2 separate regions of the Homo sapiens genome follow, and region 1 is linked to region 2. Evidence: promoter capture Hi-C in human tissues and cell types (Jung and others, 2019). All regions are on one chromosome and are shown on one strand. The core of a region is centred on a gene start or on the middle of the fragment in contact, and the rest is flanking DNA. Distances in the headings are between cores, read along the strand shown. Region 1 overlaps AGAP1 (ArfGAP with GTPase domain, ankyrin repeat and PH domain 1). Region 2 holds the start of ARL4C (ARF like GTPase 4C).

What was found. Contacts are between HindIII fragments. The study calls those that stand out against the background at their distance.
Region 1: a fragment that was not itself captured here is called in contact with the fragment with the promoter of ARL4C in region 2 in 1 of the 25 tissues and cell types used here (mesenchymal stem cells).

The regions. Positions count from the first base shown.
Region 1 is chr2:235,498,256-235,505,410 of GRCh38, forward strand. All of the region lies in intron 1 of AGAP1 (ArfGAP with GTPase domain, ankyrin repeat and PH domain 1), which reads left to right. Among named protein-coding and RNA genes, the nearest start is that of AGAP1-IT1, 3.9 kb to the right of the region's middle. RefSeq lists enhancers at 2,211-2,816, 6,788-7,155. The HindIII fragment of the contact is 8,188 bases long and covers 1-7,155 here.
Region 2 is chr2:234,495,060-234,502,033 of GRCh38, forward strand. ARL4C (ARF like GTPase 4C) reads right to left here and starts at 2,022. Exons shown (of 2, transcript NM_001282431.2): 1 at 953-2,022; 2 at 1-777. The coding sequence starts at 1,527. The coding sequence ends at 747. RefSeq lists silencers at 1,600-1,699, 1,810-2,099 and an enhancer at 2,284-3,057. The HindIII fragment of the contact is 18,774 bases long and covers 1-6,974 here.

The DNA of each region.
Region 1 (7,155 bases), core at 2,678-5,177, 1.0 Mb after region 2:
GAACAGTTTTTTTCCCCCAATTTTTGTTTTGTACATTGAGAGGTTTATTCCCCCCTCCCTTCACCCCCAAATCACTAGAGTTTAAGGAAGCATTGCTGATTGTTCCAGATTTATCTGATCAGGTTTCTGGGATGTCCTATGGGGCATGGCATGCTGTGAAATGTAGCCACACAGCTGTGTCGTCTCTGGAGCCTCCGCAGCCACCATGCCCAGAAATGAGCCTGAGAGCCATCTCGCCTCCAGTCTGAACAGCGTGTGTTAGTTTCCCCTCTGGTTCTCCTTAGAAAAGTCCATCGGGGGTTGATGGCATTGAGGTAGATGAATTAACTGCCTTTCTTGTTCAATAAAGCTTGTTCTTCTTTCAAGGATAAAGCCTCTCTTAGCAGTCACACATCGTAATTCAGCTTGCCAGCAGCAGGACCGTGATGTGAGTGATAGCCCAGCCAGCTCATTCAGCCAGGCGGCCCGATTCCCAGGTTCCCACGCATCGCCGGGAAGGTTGGCCTTCCTCTGAGGTTGAGCCCTCATCCAGCCCACAAGCCTCCATCCCCACCAGGTGGCCGATGAGAGGAAACCCAGGCTCTCCACTGGCCTGGCACTTGGCAGGAGAACCCTGCCCTGCACTTCTTAAGGGCATTTCCACAGGGAGATTCCAGGACCCCTTAGTAGTATCTCAGCCCCAGTGTTTGGGGGACCTGGGAAGATGGGTCAGGGTTCCCCACTTTGTCCCATGATACAGCTGCTCTGTTGAGCATGTGTGTCCCACAGAGTGCGGAGTGTCTGAGGTGCATCATCTCAGTTCGTCCTGCAGCGATCTTGTACACAGACGCACTGCTGAGGCCAGAAAGCTTAGGACACTTGTGCGAGAGCGGTGAGCTGGGCCCGTCCGACCTCACCTCTGGCCCTCTGTCGCCGTGTGAGATTGCGGAGCCCCTGTTATTCATACTTCCCATAGGCCGTGTGTGCAAAGCATCCCAAGCTTGTTTCCGCCACCCAAGGCAAGAGGGTTTGAGAAGGCCCCAAAGAACCTAAAGTATTCTGTTCTCTGTAAAGCAGCTGACTGTGGCAAAACTTCCAGAAGCATTTGTTTTCATGTGGAAATGTATTTAGTCCGGTTGATGCAGGTGTGCATGTTTAGGGAAACAAACATTTTCTTCCTGCTGTGGATAAGTGTCATGTTTCTTTGTCACCATTGGCCATGTTCATAATCCTTCAAGTTGAATGAAAGGTGGCAGGTTTGCAGTCCCCTCCTTAAAAATAACACTCAGTTGGCTTTTAGTTGCTTCCAGGTGAGCTCTCGTACCTTGCCGGCACCCGGGACCTCCACAATGCGGGCGTTCCTTGTGAGTCCAGCTTACTCATGCTTCTCAGTTGTGGTGCAGGTGCTCTTTGAGATGCCGCCTTCTCTGCCTGTTGCTCACCCTGCGAGGCTCGGTCTCTGTTGGTGTCACTCATGACCAGCCTTGCCTCGCCAGAATTAAGGCCCTCCTGGTCTCTGCCCACCGTGTTTGGCTCATCTACTTAATCAGCTGGGAGGTCTGGAAGCTGGTTGAGGGCAGAAATCAGGGCTTGTTTATTGCTGTATCCTCAGTGGTTTGATAGATCACGTCTGGCCCTTGAAGGATGCCCAGGGGTTTGTTGGCTGGCTGACTTGCCAGAGGGTCCTTTCCAAAGCTCCTTCTTGGTAGGATAAACAATGTTTATACGCTGCAGAAGTGAGGACAATTTGAAACGTCCCCAGAGCACAGAAGTTAGGGTTAGACACCTTTTGGATTTGGTGGGCTGGCTTGGTGGGAACTCAGTGTCATGTGGTGTTTGGGATGGAAGTGAAATTTTCTTTACTGTAGGTAGGGGAAGCAAAAGATTTGCTTGCTAAATCTTGGCAGCTTTTTCAGATCAGCTGTCTACAACAGGTTGGTGTTTATGTTGGGTGTAAGTGAATTTCAGACATAGAATCAATATTAAGAGGACAAATGGGTGACAGCCTGTGTCACTGCCATGATATAGTATCTTTGGCGTCACACCGAGAGCAAACGTGAGTGTGTGTCAGGTCACATTGAGGGCTGATGGAAACAGATTGCCGGCCCCTCCCATACCTCCCGAGTTTCTAGTTCTGTGGGTTTGGAGCAGGACGCACGAATGTGCCTCTCTAAGAAGTGTCCTGAGGATGCGGATGCCCTGGTCCAGGGACCGCACTTCTGGAAGCATAGCTGTAAAGGAAAGGCAGCTCCAGTTGACTTGGTATCATCTCTGGGCCGTTGTTTCTTCTTCCTTGCTGTGCTTGTAGCCAGCTGAGAAGGTTTCCTATCAGCCTGCCCTGCAGGTTTCAGGTGAAGACACCTAAGGCCAGCTGCTCAGGGAGTTGCTTGTGGTCACGCAGGCTAAGTGTGGTGGACGAGGGACTTAAACCAGATCTGAATGGTTTCAAGCTGGTGTTCATGTGATCTTCATGATGCTGTTTGAAAAGCAGCTGAATGCTGGGTGAGGGGCCTGTCGTGCCAGACCCCTTTAAATTTCATTAGGGATGGCACCGGGTTCAAGAGACTGGAGAGGAGACCTAGAGCCAGCAAACAAAAGACAGAGGGTTTATTAGGGGAATTTATTTACAGAGTGGTCCCATGGCGGCCTGGGCAGGAGAAGCGCTGCTGCTTGCTTTCAGAAAGCGTGCAGTTTATATAGCATTTTCGCTTAACACCCTCCCCCAAACAACCACCACCCAGCAACCTTAACACCAATCAAAGAGCCTCAATACCCTGTATGGCCTGCTTTCCATGGGACAGGCTGGGGGTTTAGATGTTCCTCATAGATAAGGAATGAATCTCTGGGTTGGCCACTCCCGGATTCCTTAGCTCAGAACCCCGAACATACATTCAGGTGCACCTGCCATGTGGGGCCATTCTCAGTTATTGCTGTCAGGGGCATCTGTCAGTGGGCTGCGTTTCTGCGACACGGTGGCATGTCGGATGGACATTGCCAAGAGAATCTGGTTAGGAGGTAGAGGCAGCTGATGTCCATTTCCTTCTAGACTCATTCTGTGGTTTTGCGGATTTTCCTTCTTGTCTTTCGGAGATTGTTGCTTTTTAATGTAGTCTTATGTATATTTAGATTGGGTTCTTCAGTATTCACTTATTATATGATAATTTGGCAGATGACACATTTTGTTACCAATATTTCCAAGCTGAAAGCGCGTTTCTGTAAAAGACAGGAGCTAGATGTTACTAGTAGCTTAAAAGAGCTGTTGGAGGAGCCTGAAGGAAGTGACTCATAAGGGAGAGAAGCAGTGGGGGCAGCTGCAGGAACCTTCAAAACAAAACCTGCAGCCCTGTTGCTACCACCTCTTGTTTTTTGCCTAAACCAGGCGTTTTATTTTGTTAAGACGAAAATCCCTTATTTTGCATCCGTTTTTCCCCCTGTATACCCTGCAGGTGTTTATAGTTTGTGAGTCTCACTCTGGCTTGTTTTAACCACTGATTTCGTTTCGTCTTATGTTTCTCTACACTCTAGCAAACCTGTGTCCCCCTCCCCGCCCCCATCCCAATCCTCCAGCCTTCACGTCCTTAGCTTAAGTGATTGAGTCTGGCAAAGCGGATGAGGCTTAGCTATTTTTAAAATCCAGGGTTTGAGGTTCTGATCTGGTGCTTAGCTACATAATTCCTTCCCTTTGTTAAGTACCTTTCTCCGAGAAACAAAATGCACTCTACAGATGTTAATCTCTAATCTTTGCAGCATCTGTTATTTTTATTCAGGGGTACAAGTGCTTTGTGTGTGCTGCGGTGAGCCCTGGCCTTCTGGAAGCTCTGTGCTTCTGAGGGGCTGAGGGGGATTTGGGGGTCCCTTTTCATAGTGTGGGCTGTCTTTCCCAAGATGCAGTGATGACCCATCAGAGGCAGGGTTGGTATTGTCCGTGGGGTCCAGTCCCTCTATCTTCCAGGGCTTTTCTGGTCACAAGAGACCATGGCCAGAAGTGGGTATCGTGCTTGTGTCTGGGGCCTGGGGAGGGAAGGAAAACAAATACCACCCCCTGCAGAAGAGATCGTTAATGGATTCTTTGAGTAACCAGCCAGATAGCTTGTTTGTGTGCGAGGTTGGGACATTTTCCGTAAAGAGCAGACTAAATATAGGCTCGAGGGTGGGGACCAGGGCCCGAGAGGGGGCTGCCACTGCTTGCTCCAGTATTGTTTCTTCCATTGGTAACCAGAACTTGCCACCAGTCCCAAACAGGTGGCCACCCTGAGCTCTCTGGGAACAGATTGGTGTTTTTGTTTAACCAGGGGCTCATTTGCAAATTTCACACTTCTCCCGCTGTTTGATGGGGATTGTCTTTTTTTGGGCTGCAGTGTTGGAGTATTTGTACAGTGTTTCTACACAAGCAACTGTCTAATCTTTAAAACTGCTCATGCCGTCTGGTTGTCATTAGCATCATGGTTAGAAGCTTTTTATTTGCCTTTTTTTTTTTTTTTTTTTTTAAGGGTGGGAAAACACTTTTCATGGTTCTGGGAGAAGAATTTCAAATAATGTCCATGTTCACAAATGATTTATGTTTGGTCTTGGAGAAATGTCAGCATTCAACAGGCTCTAGTAAATACAACCATGTTGATTTCCAGCTTAGGACGAAGCTACTGTTACCCTGTTCTCACTCAGATAATAGTCTGAAAGGCAGAACCGTACCTTTAGAAAGTACATTTAGCTTCAATTCAATAAGTTTTAGTTTTAGCCAATAGTGACTTGTAGTATGGAGGATACTTGAAAGAAAGAAGTTAAACATTTTTTAAAAAATTTATGAACACCTGCAACAAATAGCCACAAGACCTACCCTTTTTTCAGGAAAGAGTTTTCACTTCTTAAATGTCACCTTGGGGGCATGCCCACTGTGTGATGGTACCCTTCAGCAGGATTGGTATTGTCGGAAGTGCTGGCTAGCTTATGTAATGAAAAAGAAATTGATTTGGAAAGAGCTGATTGCCCTGAATTTCCATCCTGTTTGTGCGTTGAGCTGCCCTTTTCAGTGGGGGAGAATCCAGCATATTTTCCAGGGAGGGCGTTTCCGGAAGCCTGTCTGCACCCCCTTTGTTGTTGTTTTCGAAGGTCTGGGGTGCTGCTGTGAGCCGGGATCGCGTATCTGCTCCTGTTCTGACGAGACTGCTCCTGCTGGAAGTTCAGCCTGGTGAACCTGATTTGGGAGGGGATGGTGTGATTGGCGGGGAACAGCATTGTGTTAATTTTAGCTTCAACAATCAAGCCTGGGTCTCTGAGTGTCCATGTAGTACTTGAAGTTTGGGTTTGGAATTGGTGGGATTGAGACCACTTCAAACTCTTTTATTTCTTGGAACTTGTTAGTATTTATTTATTTATTTTTTGAGACAGGGTCTCACTCTGTTGCTTAGGCTGAAGTGCAGTGGCACTATTGGGGCTCATTTGTAGCCTCAACCTCCCAGACTCAAGTAATCCTCCCACCTCAGCCCCCGCCAAGTAGCTGGGACTCCAGATGTGCACCATGCCTGGCTAATTCATTGGATTTTCAGTAGAGACGGGGTTTCACCATGTTGCCTGGGCTGGTCTTGACATTCTGGACTCAAGCAATCCACCTGCCTCAGCCTCCCAGAGTGCTGGGATTACAGGCATGAGCCACTGTGCCTGGCCTAGTTTTTAATTTTTGAGACAGTCTCTGTCAATCAGGCTGAAGTACAGTGGCACGATCGTGGCTCACTGAAGCCTTGCTTTCCTGAAGCGATCCTCCTGCCTTGGCCTCCCAAATAGCTGGGACCACAGGCACGCACCACCATGCCCGACTAATTTTTTAATTTTTTTTGTAGAGATGGGGTCTCGCTATGTTGCCTTGGCCTCCCTAAGTCTTAGGTTTACAGGCTTGAGCCACCACGCCCAGCCTCGAACTCTCTTTTTTTTTTGACACATAACAGAGAAAGGTGCCCAAGTCATAAAGGAGAAAGTTTTCACAAACTGATCACATGTGGGACCAGCATCCAGTTCAGTGGCCAGCACAGACTCATCTGTCGTGAGGGTCGTTAGAAATTGTAGCCCCCATTTATTGGTCTCTTCTGCCTGTGATATGTGCTTGAGTGGTTGCCTGTTTCGGGGGCTGTCAGTGTTTGAGTGGCTGCCTGTTTCGGGGGCTGTCAGTGTTTGAGTGGCTGCCTGTTTCGGGGGCTGTCAGTGTTTGAGTGGCTGCCTGTTTCGGGGGCTGTCAGTGTGTGAGTGGTTGCCTGTTTCGGGGGCTGTCAGTGTTTGAGTGGCTGCCTGTTTCGGGGGCTGTCAGTGTTTGAGTGGCTGCCTGTTTTGGGGCTGTCATGAATAGCACCACTGTGCAGATTCTCACTTGCCTTTTGGTGCCCATATGGCCTCATTTCTGTCGGGTGTGTGCTGGGCTGTGTCTTTCTCTCTGTGGGTTGGACGTAGCTGCTCGTGAAGCCGCTCCTGCAGCCCAGCAGCCCCTATCTGGGAAACCTTTCAGTGCTTTCAAGGTTCATTTTATGACACTCAGGATGGCCGTTTGTCTCCTTTTGCTGATTTTCATTCTTTCAGTTGTTTGTTCATAAACAAATGTTTGCATGGCTAATGCATTTCCAGCACTTAGAGATTAGGTTTTTAAACTTTTGGATTGTCTGCAGGCTATTAATTCCTTGTTAGTTGAATAATGACGGCTGTGTGCATGGAGCTGTGTGAGCGAAATCCCTCACCAGGAAGAGGGCGCAGTTCCTCTGGGACTGGAACAGGGGCCCCTTTGGCTCTCCTTGGCTCCTGGCAGAAGTCAGTTGTCAACTGGGGGACTCTTTCTGGCTGAGCCCCAAGCAGCCTCAATCCATCCCTGTGCTGGGTTTTAGATAACCCACTGGATCTGTGTTGGTCTTTGAAAGGGAATTCACTCTGTATGTTTGGCCTAAACTGTGTTATGGCCTTCATAGTTACGTATTAGCATTATTCAGTTTTTGTTGTTTGTAGCAATTATGCTGAAGACACAAAAGAAGAAAAAAAGCTAAGTGTTGCCAACTCAAGGAGTAATTTTCTTTGTTCCAGCGCTGTGTCCTGGGAGCTGCCCATCCCCCTCCACAAAGGCCAGTGCTAAACAAGGCCAGAGCCAGGAAGGACACGCGGGGCCATGGATTGAGTGAGGGCAGTGTGTGCGTGTGTGGATTTCTC
Region 2 (6,974 bases), core at 772-3,271:
AAAAGCCTTACCCTTTAAACACCTTTAACTATCCTGCAAACAGTAAATGCATCATTGGCCACCACCTCCAATAGTTCGTCTTTTTTTTTTTTTATTTTTTTTATTTTTATTGGTCTCTTTGTGTGATAATGACCTACACATGGACAGGGTCCAAACCATCTGGAAGATGTCTGATTCCAGGCTGAAAAGCAGTTCTCAACAAAACTGGTCTTCTGCAGCCACCACAAAGCACCAGGAAAAGGGCACCTCCGCGGCCATCCCCAGCCAGGCCAGCACAGCGCTCCGTGCCCGCTGAACCGTCCCAGGCAGTCCTCTGATGACCCAAACCACCACCACCTTTGGGCCCAGAGCAGGACAAATGAAATTTCAACAGGGGCCTGCCCTGTGACCGAAAATTACTCAGCTTCACAGCCCCTGAATGCAAGGAGAGGTGGTCCCCCCAGAACCAACATGCCCCCCAAGGTGGGTACGCCCACGGTTCTGGGAAATGCATACCTCAGGTAATTCACAGGTGCGATCCCCCAGTGGAGGCGGGGCAGCCTGAACTTCTGGCCCTGCAGGAGTGGGAAGAAATCGCTTTTGTCTTTCCGACAACTGAGCCTTCCACCTGGGGCTGGGAGGGCGGACAGCAGGACCGGCTCTTCCACTCCCCACCGCGGCCCCCCGACCTGGTCAGTAGCTCTGGCGTTCAGACAAAAGGTCCCCTGAGCTGGGGGTGGGGGGCAGGTCGAGAGTAGGCCGGTAAATCAGACTTCGCAGCTCCTTAAGTCACCAGTCCTGCATTTGGGTGCAGAGATTCCGTTTTAAAAATTCGAAGCATCGCTTTGGTTCGCTCTTTGTTCGCGGGCGCGGGTTCTCGCTCATCCATCCATCCATCCATCCAACCATCCATCCATCCATTCATTCTTTCTTGACGCACTCGCTCGCTCCCCGGTCGCTCCGGGCGCATTACCGCTTCTTCTTCTGCTTGAGGGACTTCCTGCGTTTCAGGATCATCTCATAGAGCTTGTCCATGCCCTCGGTGAGGCCCTCGCCGATGATGGCGCACGCCGGCTGGACGTGATAGGTGGTGGCCGGGATAAGCTCGTGCAGCGCCAGCTGCTTCTCAATCTCTGCCACCGGCAGCGACTTGGGCAGGTCCTGCTTGTTGGCGATGACCAGCAGCGGCGTGCCCTGGTTCTCGGCGAACTTGGTCACCTTGTGCAGCTCCGTCTTGGCCTCCTCCAGCCGGTCCACGTCCACCGAGTCCACCACGTAGATGATGCCGTCCGTGCAGCGGCTGTAGGACTTCCACAGCGGCCGCAGCTTCTCCTGGCCGCCCACGTCCCAGAAGTGGCAGCTGATGCCCTTGGCCGTGCCGTTGCTCAGCTTGATCTTCTCGGTGTTGAAGCCGATGGTGGGCACCGTGTTCACGAACTCGTTGAACTTGAGCCGGTAGAGCACCGTGGTCTTGCCGGCCGAGTCCAAGCCCAACATGACGATATGCAGGGACTGGAAGGCCGAGATGTTAGAGGAGATGTTGCCCATGGCTCCTGGCTGCGGCGCCAGCCACTGCGGCTGCGGCGGGAGGGCGCCGCCCCCCGAGCAGTCACGGGCCCGACGCGGCCGGGCGCACCTGGGCCCCGCCCGCCGCCGCCCGCACCGGCCCCGGGGCTCGGCGTCCCCGCGGGCGCACGGCTTGGCGCGCTCAGACGCCGCAGTCCCCGCGCCCTCGCCGGCCGGGCTCGCGATCGGCGGGCATCGCGTCTCTACGCGCGGCTTTGTCTCCCGCGAAGCCGCCTCAGATGTTCGGCGCCCTCCCCAGGCCTGGGCTCGCTCTGTGGTTTCCTCGGGCCGCGCCCCCGCGCTCCGGCAGCTGCCCGGGCTCTCCGCTCTCCCGGCGCCCGGCGCTCGCCTCTGGCCTGGGACGGCGCTGCTCCTGCTCCTGCTCCCGCTCCCGCTCCCGGAGCGCGGGCTTCCCCGGGAGTCGCTGTCCGCTCGGCAGCCTCACAGTCCCCGCGCCGCCGCAGCAGCCGCCAGCCTGCAGCGGCCGGAGAGCTCCCGGACCCGCCCCCTCGCGCCCCGCCCCGGACCCGCCCCCGGACCCGCCCCGGGCCCCGCCCCGCCCGCCGCCGGGGGTCAGGCGCGGTCCTCCCCGCCCAGCCGGCCGTTTTCGCGCGCTTCGCTGCGTCCCCGCCGCCCCCCGCCGCCCCCCGGCCCCTCCCGCGCCGCGCCGCGCAGACACAATGGGCGCGGAGCCGGCTCTTCCTCCCCAGCGGCTGACGCGTTTGCAAAAATAGCTCTCGGCTCCCGGAATCCCCGCCCGGGTCCTAGCCCGCCCCCTGCCCCTCCGGGCCGCAGCCGTGGGCGACGCAGCCTGCCTGAGGGAGTGGGTCCCGGGGTCCCAGCTCTGTGGGCGCGAGGCGGGGCAGGGCGGCCCCCAGGGTGACTGGGAGAGCGCCGCTCTGGGGAGTGAGGGCGGCGAGGCTGGGGCCTCCAAACCCCAGAAGGGACGGGACGGGGCTGGCCTCGGTGAGCTGCCAGCCTGCGCTCTGGATCCAGCCGGGCGCGTCCCCTCCCACCCTCGCGCCGCGGCTGTCGCCGGCCCCGGCCCCCAGTGACGCCCAGGCTCGCCTCCTGCCTGGGTTCCAGGGGGCTGCACCCGGCCAGCGCCGCCCTCCGGAGCCCAGGCCTGTGCCCAGGGCACCCTGGAGGCCCAGCCTTTCTTGCCCGGTGGCGGCGGTTGGGGCAGGGTCGGACCTAGGCCGCGATGGGGGATTAGAAGACCTACCTGCCCCAAGTAGCTCGGACAGCTCACCCTCCCAGACACGCCTGGGCTACCTCATTTCGTCCGCATCGACTCTGCTGACATCCCAGGGGAAGCGTCAGCATTTCGGGAGAGCACCCCTTGCCACCCGACTTTGGGAACTGAGAACCACCTGCCCGCAGGTGAACTACTCCGCAGAAATGGCAACACCAGCCCCGGGGGCTGAAAGAAAATGTGTCTACAGCTTGGAGCTGGTGGCGCAGTGGGTTACAAACACTGATATTCCACGGGTTCCACCTCCTGTCACCTCAGTTCAATGGTTTTATTCTGGTTTGTAAACATGTAACAAATGTATATCCTCTCTGGGTGCGGAGAAAAGTGAGAGTATATTATGGCAAACACACAGATCTGGGGAGAGCTGCTCCGCAGGAGACAGCAGGCCGCAGCATGGGCGACCGCATCTTCCCAGCTCTAGCTTATGAGACAGAAACGACGGAAACGGGGTCAAGGGAGAAGAAAATGAAAATGCTAAGAATTTATGAATAAAAGCTAGAATTTTAGAGAAATACTTTATCACCTTCTGTTCACAAACCACGAAAAGACATATGATATCGTTGGTACCAAAGCATGTGAGAAGACCTCACCTGTAGAAGGAAGGACAAGCCACCACCACCCCTATCCTTGGAATTCCCAAGGTGGCAGCCGGAGCGACCATCCACTCTACTGAGTGGATTTGGGGCTGGAAACGAAGTATCAGGCTGGAAAGGACCCTGCCTATCATTCCACCCAACGTTGTCCAGTGAGGTAACAAGGCCTAGGCGCCCGTGACGGCTAAGGCAGAACCTAGAGGCCCACTGCCTGCTCCAGGACCAAGGGTCTGTATGCACAAAACTGGGCACCTGCCTGCCCTCTTCCTCACATCCCACTCTACCCACACGCTATTTCCTTCAATGAGGAATAAAGTGAGCCACCCGAAGGATAGAGTTCAACAGAAAATATTGGCTGCACTGTGCCACTTACTTCATTTTAAATAAAAATGGAAATGTATTCACTGACATCACTGAAAAGTTAAGGATAAAGGTCCTCTTCAGGCATGGCTAGACCCAGGAGCTCAAAAGGAGTCTTTCGAGCAGGTGTCTCTCCAGTCCTCCTCCGTGTTCCCCTGTGTTGATTCTTTTTCCTTCTGGCAGCCTTGGACTCACATCCTTGGTTTAGATCCTGGAAAGGAAAAGGTACAACTCTTTCCCAGTAACTCTAACCAAAGCCTGGAGCACGCACCCTGGATCAAGGACTGCAGTCCAGGAGGAGGGAACACACCAGTGGATGTGGCCCAGGGGTTGAAATCGGGAAGGGTGGTTCTCCAAGAAGAATCCAGGATCTGTCACCAAAAGAGCAACTCTAGTGAGGCAACAGAAACAACATATGTTGGCATAATTCATAATGATGATGTTTCCGTTATTGGGAACCCTGGGGAGACAGGATTTTGTGTTTTTGGAGTGATTTTCTTGACTCTCTTTAATGCCTGCCCCATAGATAGCCAGCTTCTCATGAGACTGTTTCTTGTTTCTCTTTCTTCTCTGCCACAGGCAGGGCCGAGGCTGAGCCCCAACCCAAGATGAGCCTTTGGTTTAGTAGCCTGGGACCTGGACATTTGGAAAGAGACAGATCAGACTGGAAGCCTCTCCATCCGGCTTCCACAGATTACCTTTGTGTTACTTCCTTTTCCCCTAGTCAAGACTTGCTTTAAGTTTTAAGGTGGTAGGAAGGAGATATTTTAGTAAAGTATCCGATGTATCTTTTTGGTGCTATGCTAATTATTACCAAGAGCCTCAGTGGTTTTGACTGCAGCCTCCACATTTTGCACCACCATGATGGGGTTTAGCAATAAAGGGCTGTCTGCTGTCCAGTAGGAAAAAACAGATTAATAGACATTAATAGAGCCTTCCAGAACACAGCCATTAAACAGCAACTCACCATAATTGAATAGCAACCACTCTACCTGCTAATTTCACTCACCAGGTGATAAGTTAATTTTACAGTTGATAATTTAACTTCTAACACATAAAAATATCATTTGGTTGAGTCGACTGGTAACTTTCCTTCAAATGTGGATTTTTATTGAAAAACACTGGAATTATGAAAAGGAAGGTAATGTTTACCACTCATATCAGACATGTAAGGCCTACTTTGAGCCTATTTCTTCATGGACATACATCATGGCTAAATTCCACTGAGTGGAAAATATTGGCTGCACTGTGGCACTTACTTCATTTTAATTAATCAGAAGGAGAGATTTTTTCAAAGAATAGCATGTACTTGTGTCTGCCTGAGATGAATTCCTCTTCCAGCAGCAGTGACATTTCAGGTCCTCTCCTTTCTATTCTTCATCAAGATGACTGCATCCAGAGAAGAACTCAATTATTTCAAGCAAACAGAAGGCAATAACTTGGCAGTAATTTTGAAATTGCATCCTAAAATATTCTCTTTTTTTTCCCTTTAAGGGCTTTGAAATAAAATGTGCCACCAATTAAAATGACTTTTGAGTGAATCCGATGAGCAATATATCATGGCATTATTATCTTTGCTTGAGTAAGGCTAATAACCTAAAATGCAAAAGGGAGCATCCCATTTATTCTTGAATATGATGAGTAAATAAAGACCAGAACATGGGCACACGTGTACACACATACACACACGCGCGTGCGCGCATAAGTGTGGGGTTATTTGCATGTTCTCACTGCAGACCTGCTGTGGAACTCTGGGTTCAGGTTCACTGCCCCGGTGCTTAACTGTTATAATACAGGAGTGCCCTCTGCTGAGCTTCTCGGATAATAGATGAAGGGCTCTACAGAGGCACATTGGCCTAGTGCTTAGCAAATGTTCAGTCCATAGTTATGGAATGAATGATGGATAAGTGACCCCCTGCTTTTCTTCTCTCTATGGAGATGCAGGAATAGAGCCCTACTGGTTAAACTGAGAAAGTGCCAGGGGCCCATGGGTGCTTTGCTTGGGGCTCAGAGCTCAGAGCCATTGATGCCAGTGTGGGTCTTGTCTGTGAGACCTGTGGGTTATCTGCTGGGAGAGGGGAGCCAGGAACCTGGCAGAGCAGGAAGTCGCTTTACTAGGAGAACTGTTCAAAGAATCACAATTGGTGGAAGAGATCAGAAAAGAGCATCCAGGAAACCCAGCTGAGACCAGAGAAGGGAAGAAAACTGATTTTTGCATCTAATTCGCAGGCAGGCATGAGCAGCTGTAAATGGAGAATGGGGCTGGGAGTCGAGAATGAAGGAGGCCAGTTGGCAGACAAAGTGACAAGGCCTGAAGCTCCTGAAGCCAGGTGGTCCAGGATTGAAGCCTTTTATCTGTCAGGAGAGGTTCCTTAAGGAAGAACCAAACCAATACTTCCAGAAGCCCCAGGGCATGCTAGACAAACCAGTCACCATCACTGCAGTGCAACCCCCTCAACTCCAGGAGAAACGCCGACTCAGGCTACGTAACAGTGGAAGCCACTAAGACACTGGTGCCAAGGGAAGTTTTGTGGATGGGACGGTAGATCTGGGGGGAGATAAATGAAAATCTGTGATGCCTGCAAGCTCCTGCTTCATTCAAGTGGTCCAAAGCCTGAAAATAAAAAAGATCCACTACTCTATTGGCCATTCAAGTTTATAATTCTAAGGAAAAAAAAATCAGGGTGCCTTATTTTTTATTTTGCTAAGCAACAGGGCTGAAACAATTCAGGTTTTTATTTTCCCAATGATCACCACTGCTAGTGTTTTGTATGGTTGTTGTTGTTGCTGTTTTCTCCAAGAAAAAAAATTTAAATCAAAAAGCTAAAAGGCTCCCCCGCTTCAAGTCTTCCTTAATAATTGTCGATCTCTATTACATTCCTGAGATAGATATAAAATTTTAGAAGCCATTATCTGGGCTGGGCATGGTGGCTCACATCTGTAATCTCAGCACTTTGGAAGGCTAAGGTGGGAGGGTCATCTGAGGTCAGGAGTTTGAGACCAGCCTGACCAACATGGTGAAACCCCATCTGTACTAAAAATATAAAAATTAGCCGAGTATGGTGACAGGCATCTGTCATCCTAGCTATTCTTGAGGCTGAGGCAGGAGAATGGCTTGAACCTGGGAGGCAGAGGTTGCAGTGAGCCAAGATCGCGCCACTGCACTCCAGCCTGGGCAACAAAAGCGAAACTCCATCTCAAAAAATAATAATAATAAATAG